3 separate regions of the Homo sapiens genome follow, and regions 1 and 3 are each linked to region 2. The links are contacts of gene promoters, found by promoter capture Hi-C in human tissues and cell types (Jung and others, 2019). All regions are on one chromosome and are shown on one strand. Each heading gives the region's core, a stretch centred on a gene start or on the middle of the fragment in contact. The rest is flanking DNA. Distances are from core to core; before and after follow the strand shown. Region 1 overlaps LOC105376134 (a long non-coding RNA gene). Region 2 holds the start of CTSL (cathepsin L). Region 3 holds the start of SPIN1 (spindlin 1).

Region 1 (3,698 bases), core at 1,000-3,499, 800 kb before region 2:
ATTTGCTACCTTATTGTCACAAAGAGTCTGTTTTGTTAGTCTTATGATCTGTATTTTAACATTTATGCTGGTCAGTTCTGCCTAAACTCCAAAAGGGAGGGCATGTAACAAGGCATGAGTCCAACCTCCCTTCCCATTGTGGCCAGGAATTTCGTTTTTAACTTTTTTCTGGGATCCTCTTGGCCAACAGGGGGTCTGTTCAATGAGTAGAGGGTTAGGATTTTATATTTAGTTTACATCAGGGACCTGGGTGAAGCGAGTAAGCCCTCCAGGGAGGTGTGATCATGGGGGAACAGAGTCAGCCACCCCCATCCCAGATTCTCCTTGGACTGCCTGCTCTGAGCGGCTGTGTGTAGACAGCAAGGAAGAGGGGTCTTCGTCAGATGCGTGCACCAGAGACTCCAGAACAGCTCAGCCTGGCTCACTCAGTAAAGGGCATTCTCAAGGGTCATTGCTGACTCTTCCGGGGCAGCCAGTCTTCAAATGGACTTTCCCAAACCCCTTCCTATTGCAGAAAGCTTGTGTCATTTGCCTCCAAATGCTGTCCCCCTGACCTCTCCCTGGGGAGGGAGTGGGCTGCAGGTGCCACAGGATGCAGCATGAAGCCCTGCATTCTCCCACCGCTGCTGGAGCCAAGTTCTCCTTCATGTTTCTCTCTGCACAACACACACAGGAACACTCACAAATGCAGTCCTGGAAACAGGATTAGGTGGCCCCTACTTTCCTAGCTGGGATATGCAAAGCCACTTTCATACCAAACTTCCTTCCAGGGCATCTAAAGGTGACATGAGTGTGGGCATCTGTAAGCAGCTTTACTTGCCTTGGACAACCACAGGGAAACTGGGCAGTGAGTCCCACTCCAGATGCTGGCCGGAGAGACCCCAGTGAAGGCACCCTCAGGCCTGCCCTCCCTCCCTGAGCCCCTCTCCCCTCCCCGCTGCCCCTGATTTAAGGGTAGTCCTTTCTGCATTTCCTCCCGAGAGCACGATAATAACTCACTGCTTGACCAACTTCAGACAGACTCCTCCGGCACTTTTTTCAGCTAGGCCTCATCCTTGGACCCCGTGCTCAGCCTGCCTGAGCCAGTCTTAGCAAAGAATCCTGTTAAGTCCTCTTCTGCCTTTAGTATCCAATCATCCTGGCCTGCCTGCAGCAGGTGTCCTGTTAAGTTAGTTTAGCAAGATACCCCCCTACCGTCAAGGTCCCCTCTGTTTTCCATCTGCCAACCCCCCACCTCCACCCTGTTCCTGGGCTGTAAATCCCCACTTGTCCTTGTGTTGGGAATTGTGCTCGGCGCTTTCCTTTTGCAGTAGTGCTCAACAGAGTCTGTCTTTTTGCCTTGGATAGTGTTCAGTTCTATTTCTCATTAACAGTTATGAAGGGCTGTGACACCTTGCTTGGCTTCTAGTCTTGACATAGACTAAAAGGCAGAAGGTTTCCAGAGCTCACGCTGGATGGCTGGGCAGATGAGGTCTTCAGAGACTCTCCAGGGAGGTACGGCTCTGCCTTTCTACTCAGTATGCAAGCTCCCCAGACTTCTGAAGAGGGATGTTTCTCCTTAGAGAAAGTCTCCCTGAATGTGGGTATTTCATAAGTTCTTGGACCAGTTCTGCTCTTCTCAGTCCTGCTTTTTGTCAACATACATTGAATCACTTCTCCCTGGCAAAAGAGCAGCATGTGAAGAAAATGTGATCCTTGGTGGTTTGACATGAAATTGACTTTTTCTTCTAGCAACACTTATGAATATTCAAATACAATTATGGAAAAGATTTTTTGCACTGATCAGCATAACAAACAAATTAGACATCCCAGTGTGCAAATATAACTTTCTGAATTTCCTAGTTTTAAATATTCCAGTGGCCAGGATACCCTATCCAGAGGAAGCAGGACCGTCTCAGCTGACCAGGGCCCTTGCCTGCTAATAGCATCATGCATACCTTGTTTCTTCATGAGGCTGCTTGCCCGAGTTCCAATCCACCAGGAATTCATCTTGTATCATAGCTGATGGATCCCGTGTCTCGTTTCTAAGTTGGAGCATCACTTTGCAGCTCCCAACCAGGGCCAGCCACAAAATTTGAAAGGCCCAGTGCAAAATAAAAATGCAGAGCCCCTTGTTCAAAAAGCAGGAAAAGAATGGGCCAGCAAAGGAACTAAAATAAACGAAAGCTTTTCCCTTTCTTCCATGGTCTCTCTTTTGACCTATCATGGTGTTTTTATTTGCTACTGAATATCATGCTTTCTTGGGACAGGGTGAGTGTCAACTGTCACACTTGCCCAGGGGCCCTGCCGAGTGACTTGGTGGGTACACAGTCCACCAGCTGCTTGCATGGCCACGCCCACCCTGAGATGCCACGGGTAGTGTAGTAAAAGCATCTGATGTCAACCCCACACCCCTCCACACATACACACTCAGGTTCCCGCAGACCATGGAGGGCACCAGCGGTTGCTGGGTGAGGGTGGGGATGGGGAGGCCATGTGGGGCCCAGGACACCAAAGGGAGGGAGACGAGCAGTCAATAATGTGCCTGGGAGAGGTGGCGGACCAGCAGCAGATGGGAGCACACATGAGGCAGGCTCCAAGTGCTCACGTATGCTCCACTGTCCAATGAGGCCTCACTTACACCACACAAATTCAAAGATAAAATAAAGTTTTTTTTGTTTTGTTTTGTTTTGTTTTGTTTTGGAGACAAGAGTCTCACTCTGTCACCCAGGCTAGAGTGCAGTGGCGCAATCTTGGCTCACTGCAACTTCCACCTTCCAGGTTCAAGTGATTCTCCTGCCTCAGCCTCCCAAACAGCTGGGGCTACAGGTGTCCACCACCACACCTGGCTAATTTTTTGTATTTTTAGTAGAGATGGGGTTTCTCCATGCTGGCCAGGCTGGTCTCAAACTCCTGACCTCAAGTGATCCGCCCCCCTCGGCCTCCTAAAGTGCTGGGATTAGAGGCATGAGCCACCGTGCCCAGCCTGATAAAATAATTAAGAATGTCAAGACAGCAATCACAGAGCACTAAACCCCAAGTGCAGGGCCCTGTGCCTCTGAGGGGCTGCATGGCCACGAAGCCACCCTGCTCCAGCATTGGCAGCAGGAAATACAATCCATTCCTGGATGGAGGTTGGGTTAGTTCCTCAGGGCTGCTGTAACAAAGACAACCTGGGTGGCTCCAAACAACAGAAATGGGCTATCTCATAGTTCCAGAGGCCAGAAGTCTGACATCAGCGTGGTGCAGGGCCGTGCTCCCTCTGAAACCTTAGGAAGTCCTTGCTTGCCTCTTCCTGGCTTCTGGTGGCTGCAGCAATCTTTGGAGTTCCTTGGCTTGTGGCTGTGTCACTCCAATCCTAGGTCTTCACCGGTCTCCTTTTTATAAGAACACAGTCACATTGGGTCAGCGGCCCACCCTGCTCCAATGTGACCTAACTTTAACTATTACATCTGCAAGGATCCTGTTTCCAAATAAGGTCACATTTTGAGGTCCTGAGAGTTAGGACTTCAGAATGGCTCATCTTTGTGGGGGATGCACAACCCATAATAGAGGTGTGGAGGAAGGAGAGTTTCTTCAAGGGGCAGGACTGGGAAAGACTTTGTAAGGAGGCTGGTCCTTGAAAGAGGTGGCAGGAGCGGGGCCACAGCAGGTTGGGAGAGGGAAGAGTGAGCTTCTCAGTTGGGCCACCATGAGGGTGGCTGTCACTGGGTGCAGAC
Region 2 (3,386 bases), core at 770-3,269:
GGCGTTCATGGCCATTGTGAAGCTGTGTTTCCCTTCCCTGTATTCCTGATTGTGCAGTTCAATCATCTTCATGTTCTTCTCCCACACTGCTCTCCTCCATCCTTCTTCATTCTAGAGGCAAACATGTAACTGATGCTCTTTACTTCTACCTAAAACCCAACTCATCCTCACCAAGTGAATCTGCAGACAGAGATGGAAGAGAAACCATGGCAAGGGAAGGCTTGACACCTCTGGGGATGCTGTTCTCCAAACTGAGACACAACAAGGATGAATGTCCACATTGTGCTCATAATCCACGCCATTAGGTTATTACATTAGGCTATTGGTAAAAGCTGGCCTCTAGAAGCTACTCTCTGACTAAAACTTCTCAACAGCCAGGACTATTCTTTCTGGGGAAGTTTCACTAACCATGCCGTATAATCTGTTGTGCATCGCCTTCCACTTGGTCCACTGTGCCTCTAAACTGTGATCAAATGTTAGAGTAGCTGAGGCAATTCCCAGGCAAAAGGCAGCAAGGATGAGTGTAGGATTCATGTTTTAAAACCTAGGAAGGGAACAAAAATGAGGATCTGATTAGACCAATCCTAAAAAGCCATCTTACTGCCCCCTGAAAAATTAGGGCCACCATGGTAGAATAAAAATATTTAAATTATTCTCCCAAGCATTTACCCAAGGACTGTGGAAGAGGCCAAGGATGTGCCTGGAGAAAAACAGGGCACGTGGAGGTACTGGATGGACTCACCAAAATGAAAAGCAGCCTGTCCAGAGCTGTAGGAGCTGAAACAGTTTATGCGATGACAATTTAGGTTATGAGAACGGTATGAAACTACCTTGTGTGTGAGAAGCTTAAGGCAACAACTAGGAAACCGGGAAACGGTTGATCCAGGTTTTGTACCAATCGCAAAAAATCCAGGTTTCGTGCCCAGGCAAAACCTCACTAATGATAAGGTGGGATTCCCAAGTAGGGACAAAGAGATCCCCAAGAGTTAGGAGGCCTTCACACATCTTCCTGACTAACAAACACCAAAAGCTGAGATAAGTTTTCCAATCTCTCCTATTTATTTATTTATTTATTTATTTATTTATTTATTTATTTTTTGAGATGGAGTCTTGCTCTGTGGCCCAGGCTGGAGTTCAACGGCGCGATATCGGCTCACAGCAACCTCTGCCTCCCGGGTTCAAGCCATTCTTCCTCAGCCTCTTGAATAGCTGGAACTACAGGCGTGCGCCGCCTCGCCCGTCTAATTTTGTATTTTCAGTAGAGACGGGGTTTCACCATGTTGGCCAGGCTGGTCTCGAACTACTGACCTCAGGTGATCCGCCCACCTCAGCCTCCCAAAGTGCTGGGATTACAGGAGTGAGCCACCGCGCCGCCCCAACCTCTCCTTAAATGAAACCTTTCTGAAATGCTTTCCCAGGAAAAACTGGGAAGGAGAGCACGCACTGCTCCCTCCTTCATTCACTTGGGCCTGTGCTGCCGACACCCCAAACTGCTCCCCTAAATCAGGGACGGGGTCATATGGCCGCACGCGGGAAGCCAGCGCCCTGCAGCCAGCTTCCAGGGCTCCAGGCGTGGCAGGGCCGGGGACATGACGCCTGCGCCACACACTGGCTGTAGCGGTCAGAGGATGTTTGCGGTGACGCCAGCAGGAGTACCGCTGTCTGGCGTGCGGGGACTGAGCTTCCCTGTCTGGCCGGGCCAGGCCCTGAGTCGGCGCGGCGCGGCCTGGCTGCGGTACCTGTGTCCACCCGGCTCGGAGGCTGGCCTGCCCGCTCAACCAGTCACGCGCCTCCGCGGGGTCCTCAACTGCCCTCCCCGGCTTCCCCACCTCAAGGCCAGCAGAGTTCGGGGTAGACGCTCTCGTTGCCAGGGCTGGTGCACACCTACTCGACCGCGTCCTCTCTTCCAGTCCCTGTCCGGCCACAGCTGGGCCTGGCCGGCGGCGCTTTCCTGCTGCGGTCGTAGCTGCGCAGGCGCACTCCACGGATGCCGCTCAAGGTTGCGGAGGTCGCGGTTCTGGCCCAGCTTCGCCTGACTCTGCTTCTAAAACCTCGGGTCTGGGTTCGGCCGGCACCGCCCCGCCGCCTGGCTGCGCTGCGATTGGCTGTGCCGGCAGCTGGGCGGGGACTCTGGGTGCTCTGATCCCTGGCGCGGTTCGTGGCTTGTTTACTGACTGTCCCAGAGCTGGGCGTGCCTGCCTCAGTGGACCTGGAGGAAGCAGAGCTGGTGCCCCGGGGCGGCGCAGAGTAGGGTCGGGCGTCTCCCTGGAGCGCTCGAGTCAACTAAGTACACGACTTACTGCACTGGGCGAGTGGCTCCTGAAAAGACGTTTACCGCAAGCCCTGTGTGGACTGTTTCAGCCTAACCTTGCTATTCCTTAGTCCTGGAATTTTTGGTCCGCAGAGCCGAGAGTCAAGTGTACTCTAGTCCAGTGGCTCCTGTTTAGTCCACAGCAAACGTGGGGCCGGGTGGACGAACGCAGAGCCCGCGGGCAGAAGCCTTATCTCCCACTTAAGGGTGGGTGCAGCTGGGCTTTAGAAGAATCTGGTAAGGAAAGGCATCCCCAAAACACGAGATGCTATCGTCAAGACCAGACCCTAGGAGGGAGGAGACTGGCTGCGTCTCCAGAGAGCGCGGGCGTTTTGTCAAGCATCCTTTCCAGACTCCTCCATTCAGGGATTCTTCCTTCTCCCACGTCTTACCCAAAACCAACAGAAATGAGTTATTTACAGAAACATTTGGTTGACAGGAGAAAAGCAGTTGAGAACATTAGAAGCTGCTTTTATTCGCCCACTCTCTAGGCTATGGATTATATCTTCCTTGGTAACCAAGTCGTTCTCTTGAGATTTAAGAAATTTAATGACATTTAATGTCAGGATTTAAGATACAGAGAATGGAGAAATGTTGTAGATAGAGGAAAAATATGTATCTTAATCTGTATAATGTAGATATTAATTTATGTAATTAAGGATTTAAGGAACAAAACCCACAAACATTCTAAACTTTTGTCATTTCATTTTTTATTACATAAAAACATTCATTGTAGAAAATACCTTTCGGGGAAAAAAATAATTACCTCTGCCTTTACCCCATAACCTTTTCGTATGCATATTTTGACTTTGTTAAAAATGAACAAAGTCCATTGATTTCTATTGAAGATTAAACTGATAACTCTTTTAGAAGCACAATCACCTATAGTTTTTTAAGTGGTAAAATATACCTCACATAGCAAGTACCATTTTAACCAACTTTGAGTTCAGTAGCATTAAGTACCTTCACATTGTGTAACCATTACTACTGTTTATTCCCAGAGCTTGTTTATCTTCCTAAACTGAAACTGTATCCATTGAATAATAGTTCCCCATTCCCCCTCTCCTAGCTCAGG
Region 3 (3,352 bases), core at 212-2,711, 660 kb before region 2:
CCTCATTTCACCTGCCCTTTCCAAAATTTCACTTCAAAAGAGTGTTAAAAAAAACTCAGTATATCCAGGTATAAATCTCCAAGTTTAATTTTCACTGCTTAACAAAAGCGATGTAGAAAGCAATTACTGTACCCTCCATTAATCCTTTCGGATTGCATGGAATTCCTTCCAGAAAATTCCAATAGAAAAAAAGTTAAGACAGGTAATCGCGTTTTGGTACGTGTGTCGTCTCTGGCACAAGTCATGTAGAGTGAAATCCTTTAAGACATTTAAATGTTCCTGGTATTGTTTTGTGATTAACGTGATAAAATTGCCAAACAATCCATATTTACCATGAGTGAAAACACTTCCACCACGTACGGAAAATCTCTCCAAAACACAAAATCTGATTCAAAAATTATAAGTAAAAAGAGAATAAATGTAAAAACAATTCCATAAACAAACTTTGAAATGCGTATACGATGACATTACTGAAGCCATTACTCAAAACGAACCTCTGTAAAATCGAGAACGCACAATCAATGCAATAAAATGCTCGAGAAAGCCAAACCCGAGGCGCTGCGCAGTTCCCGCATCGCACAATTCGTTTCAACACATTCCTTGACGAATACACCCAAGGTCACTCACGATGGAGAGGAAAAGTGCCTGTCTCTCTCCAGAGCACGCAACCCGTTCGCCGCGCCCCCACGGAGGGCGGCGAAGAGACGGCGCATCAGGAAAGGGGCTGCGCGGGCGCGAGGACTGGCCGGTGGGCGTTCCGGCGCCGCGAACCGCGGAGCCTGCAACTTACAAGGTCCGCGGCCATCCCCCGGGCCTGGGAGGGGTGGCCCCAGGGCAGGCCCGCGTCCCCGGGGTGACCCGACCCGTCGCGCCGGGGTCCCGCCCCTCCCCCCGCCCCGCCCCCGTCGCCGGCCCGGGATTATGCAACGTTCCCCCTCCCCGCCTGCATTCTGGCGCAGCGCCCCCTCCCCGCGCCCGACTGCGCAGCGCCGCCGCCCCCTGCCCGCCGGCCTCCCCGCCCGGCTCCAAACAAAGCGCGCGCTAAGGGGCCGGCGGCGGCCGGGGAACTGGGGACGAGAGGGTGGCGGCCATGTTGGCGGGGGGCGGCGGGGATGGGGGCACGGAGGAGTAGGGGCCGGCGAACAAAGGAGCGCGCGCCCGCCCCGAGGCCCAGGCCCGCCCAGCCCGGGTCCCCGCCGCGGCCCAGCCGGCAGGGGGCGCTATGCGGGCGCCGCCCGCTGGACAATGCTCCGCCGGGCCCCGCGCGGGCCGCGCTCACCTGCGCCCCCGGGCAGACCGCCGCACCGCTGGCCCGCCCGCAGCCCGCACTCCCTCACGACCCACGCCCGCCCTGCGCGGGCCTCACCTGCTGACCGCCGAGGCTGCAGTCCACAGGCCCACGGGTTCCGCCGTCGCTCGTTCGCGCTCCCGCCGGCCCCAGCCTGAGCCAGACGGCGCCTCCCCGCCCCCGCTCCCTCGCCGCGGACGCCGCCCGCCCCCCAACAGTCAGGGCGCACGCGCACTGCGCCCGCCGAACTGCGACGGCCGCGCCGCCCCGGCGCCTGGCGCCGACGGCCGACTGCGCAGGCGCAGTGGGGCGGGGCGGGGCCGGCGAGGGCGGGGCCTGGCCCCTCTCACCTGGCTGGCGGCAGGGCGGGGCTCGAGCCCGGGACTGCCAGGTGCGCGCCGGGAATGGGCGGCGGCAGGCGCGCGGGGCACAGGTTCCTGAGGGGGCGCAGCTTTTCCTGGAAGGCAGGCAGCCTGAGAAGGGCTTCGTTTTTGCGCAGTAGGACGTTGAAGAAAGGACAAGCCCCCTTTGTCCTGGACGTAAGCCGCAAGTCGTCCTGAGTGGTGCACACCGCGAAGACTGAGGAAACTGGATCACAGGGCTGGGCCGTGAGCCTTGAACCTCGGAGAACGTCGCATTACTGCTCCAGCGCGCCGGTTCAGGGCCGCGGGACGCGAGCCCTTTAAAAGGATGGATTTGCTTCCTGTGACTCCCTGGAAGAGACGTCTTCACCACCGCACTGCGTAGAGGCCGGCGTCGTCGCCGGCTCACCCCGCTTGCTGCCTCCCCGCACAAAGCCCAGCCCAGGTAGCTCAGGTTAGCTGGAGCCCCGGAGCCTCACCTACAAGTACCTGGCCTGTCCTAGGTTGTGTGGGGACGGGATGTGGCTTCTGCAAGCCCAGAAACCTGTTTCCACTCCCCCACCACAAATGGAACTCACCCAGCTCTACTCGCAAGGTTAGGAGCCAAAAATTCCCATGATCGCACGCGAATTCATTTGACTTCCGTTTCAGTTAAGATGCCTTTTCAGCATTTTGTTGCTTGTTTGCAGAAGGGAGAGAGGTAGGATCAAGAATAGTTTTTACTCCTGCAGAGTCGAGTGCGAGACTTGGAGGCTGAGTCCAGGCGCTCTCCCCTCCCCGCCAGTCCCGTGTCCTGGAGCAGGTCACTGACCTGGTTCCTCGAGTGCGACAGCGCAGCCTCATCGTAATAAACCGCCTCCCAAAGCGTTGTCAGATCAAATTCCAGAACATGTTACTGGAAAGCACCTTGAACACTCTAAACTGCAGCACAGTTATTAGTTAGCAATACTCTTTGGGGTTTCACTGGCACCTTTTCTAACAAATAAGATTGATAGATGCCTGCTCAAACAAATTGAAGTGCTTGTCTCAGATGACACACTTGGCAGGCATGGGACGTTCACAGGCCAACTAGAGAGCTAATTTCAAAACTGAGATATAAAAGTGTATCGCTGTACTTACAAGTTACCAAGTGTTGAGAAATTACTCACTTTCATTTGTGTGTTTAATGTCTTTTTTGTTTTTTTAGACGGAGTCTCACTCTGTTCCCCAGGCTGCAGTGCAGTGGCATGATCTCGGCCCACTGCAACCTCCGCTTCCTGGGTTCAAGCAATCCTCACATTTCAGCCTCCCGAGTAGCTGGGATTACAGGCGCGCACCACCATGTCCAGCTAATTTTTAAAAATATTTTTAGTAGAGACGGGGTTTCGCCATGTTGGCCAGGCCGGTCTCAAACTCCTGGCCTCCAGCAATCCGCTGGCCTCGGCCTCCTGAAGTGCTAGGATTACAGGCGTGAGCCACCGCGCCTGGCCTGTTTAATGTCTTGCAGTGGGGTCATCTCCGAAACAAAGAGGGATGGGAAGAAGGTAGGTGCCAAGAAGTCTGCTGGTTGGAAGATTTCATCTCATTGGCGAGATCCCTGGGTTTCTCCACCTCAGCAGTGTTGGCTTTTGGGATGGGATAATCCTTTCATGTGGGGTCTGTTCCATGCTTTGTAGGATGTTTGACAGCATCCCTGGCCTCCACCCACTAGATGCCAGTAGCA

What was found. Contacts are between HindIII fragments. The study calls those that stand out against the background at their distance.
Region 1: a contact is called between a fragment that was not itself captured here and the fragment with the promoter of CTSL in region 2, in 1 of the 25 tissues and cell types used here (aorta).
Region 3: the fragment with the promoter of SPIN1 here is called in contact with the fragment with the promoter of CTSL in region 2 in 1 of the 25 tissues and cell types used here (dorsolateral prefrontal cortex).

The regions. Positions count from the first base shown.
Region 1 is chr9:88,526,440-88,530,137 of GRCh38, reverse strand. LOC105376134 (a long non-coding RNA gene) reads left to right here. Exons shown (of 2, transcript XR_007061653.1): 2 at 1,374-2,178. Among named protein-coding and RNA genes, the nearest start is that of NXNL2, 6.9 kb to the left of the region's middle. The HindIII fragment of the contact is 4,513 bases long and covers 1-3,698 here.
Region 2 is chr9:87,724,752-87,728,137 of GRCh38, reverse strand. It overlaps CTSL (cathepsin L), which reads right to left and starts at 2,019. Exons shown (of 8, transcript NM_001912.5): 1 at 1,740-2,019; 2 at 409-544; 3 at 1-111. The coding sequence starts at 534. RefSeq lists promoters at 702-1,122, 702-1,741, 1,946-2,156, 1,995-2,176, 534-2,176 and 7 more, cis regulatory regions at 1,123-1,356, 1,357-1,502, 2,078-2,079, 2,102-2,105, 2,116-2,119 and 10 more and an enhancer at 1,707-2,228. The HindIII fragment of the contact is 7,957 bases long and covers 1-3,386 here.
Region 3 is chr9:88,386,553-88,389,904 of GRCh38, reverse strand. SPIN1 (spindlin 1) reads right to left here and starts at 1,461. Exons shown (of 6, transcript NM_006717.3): 1 at 1,367-1,461. LOC124902204 (a long non-coding RNA gene) reads left to right here and starts at 706. Exons shown (of 2, transcript XR_007061652.1): 1 at 706-793; 2 at 1,788-3,352. RefSeq lists a silencer at 809-1,708 and an enhancer at 1,786-2,645. The HindIII fragment of the contact is 12,466 bases long and covers 1-3,352 here.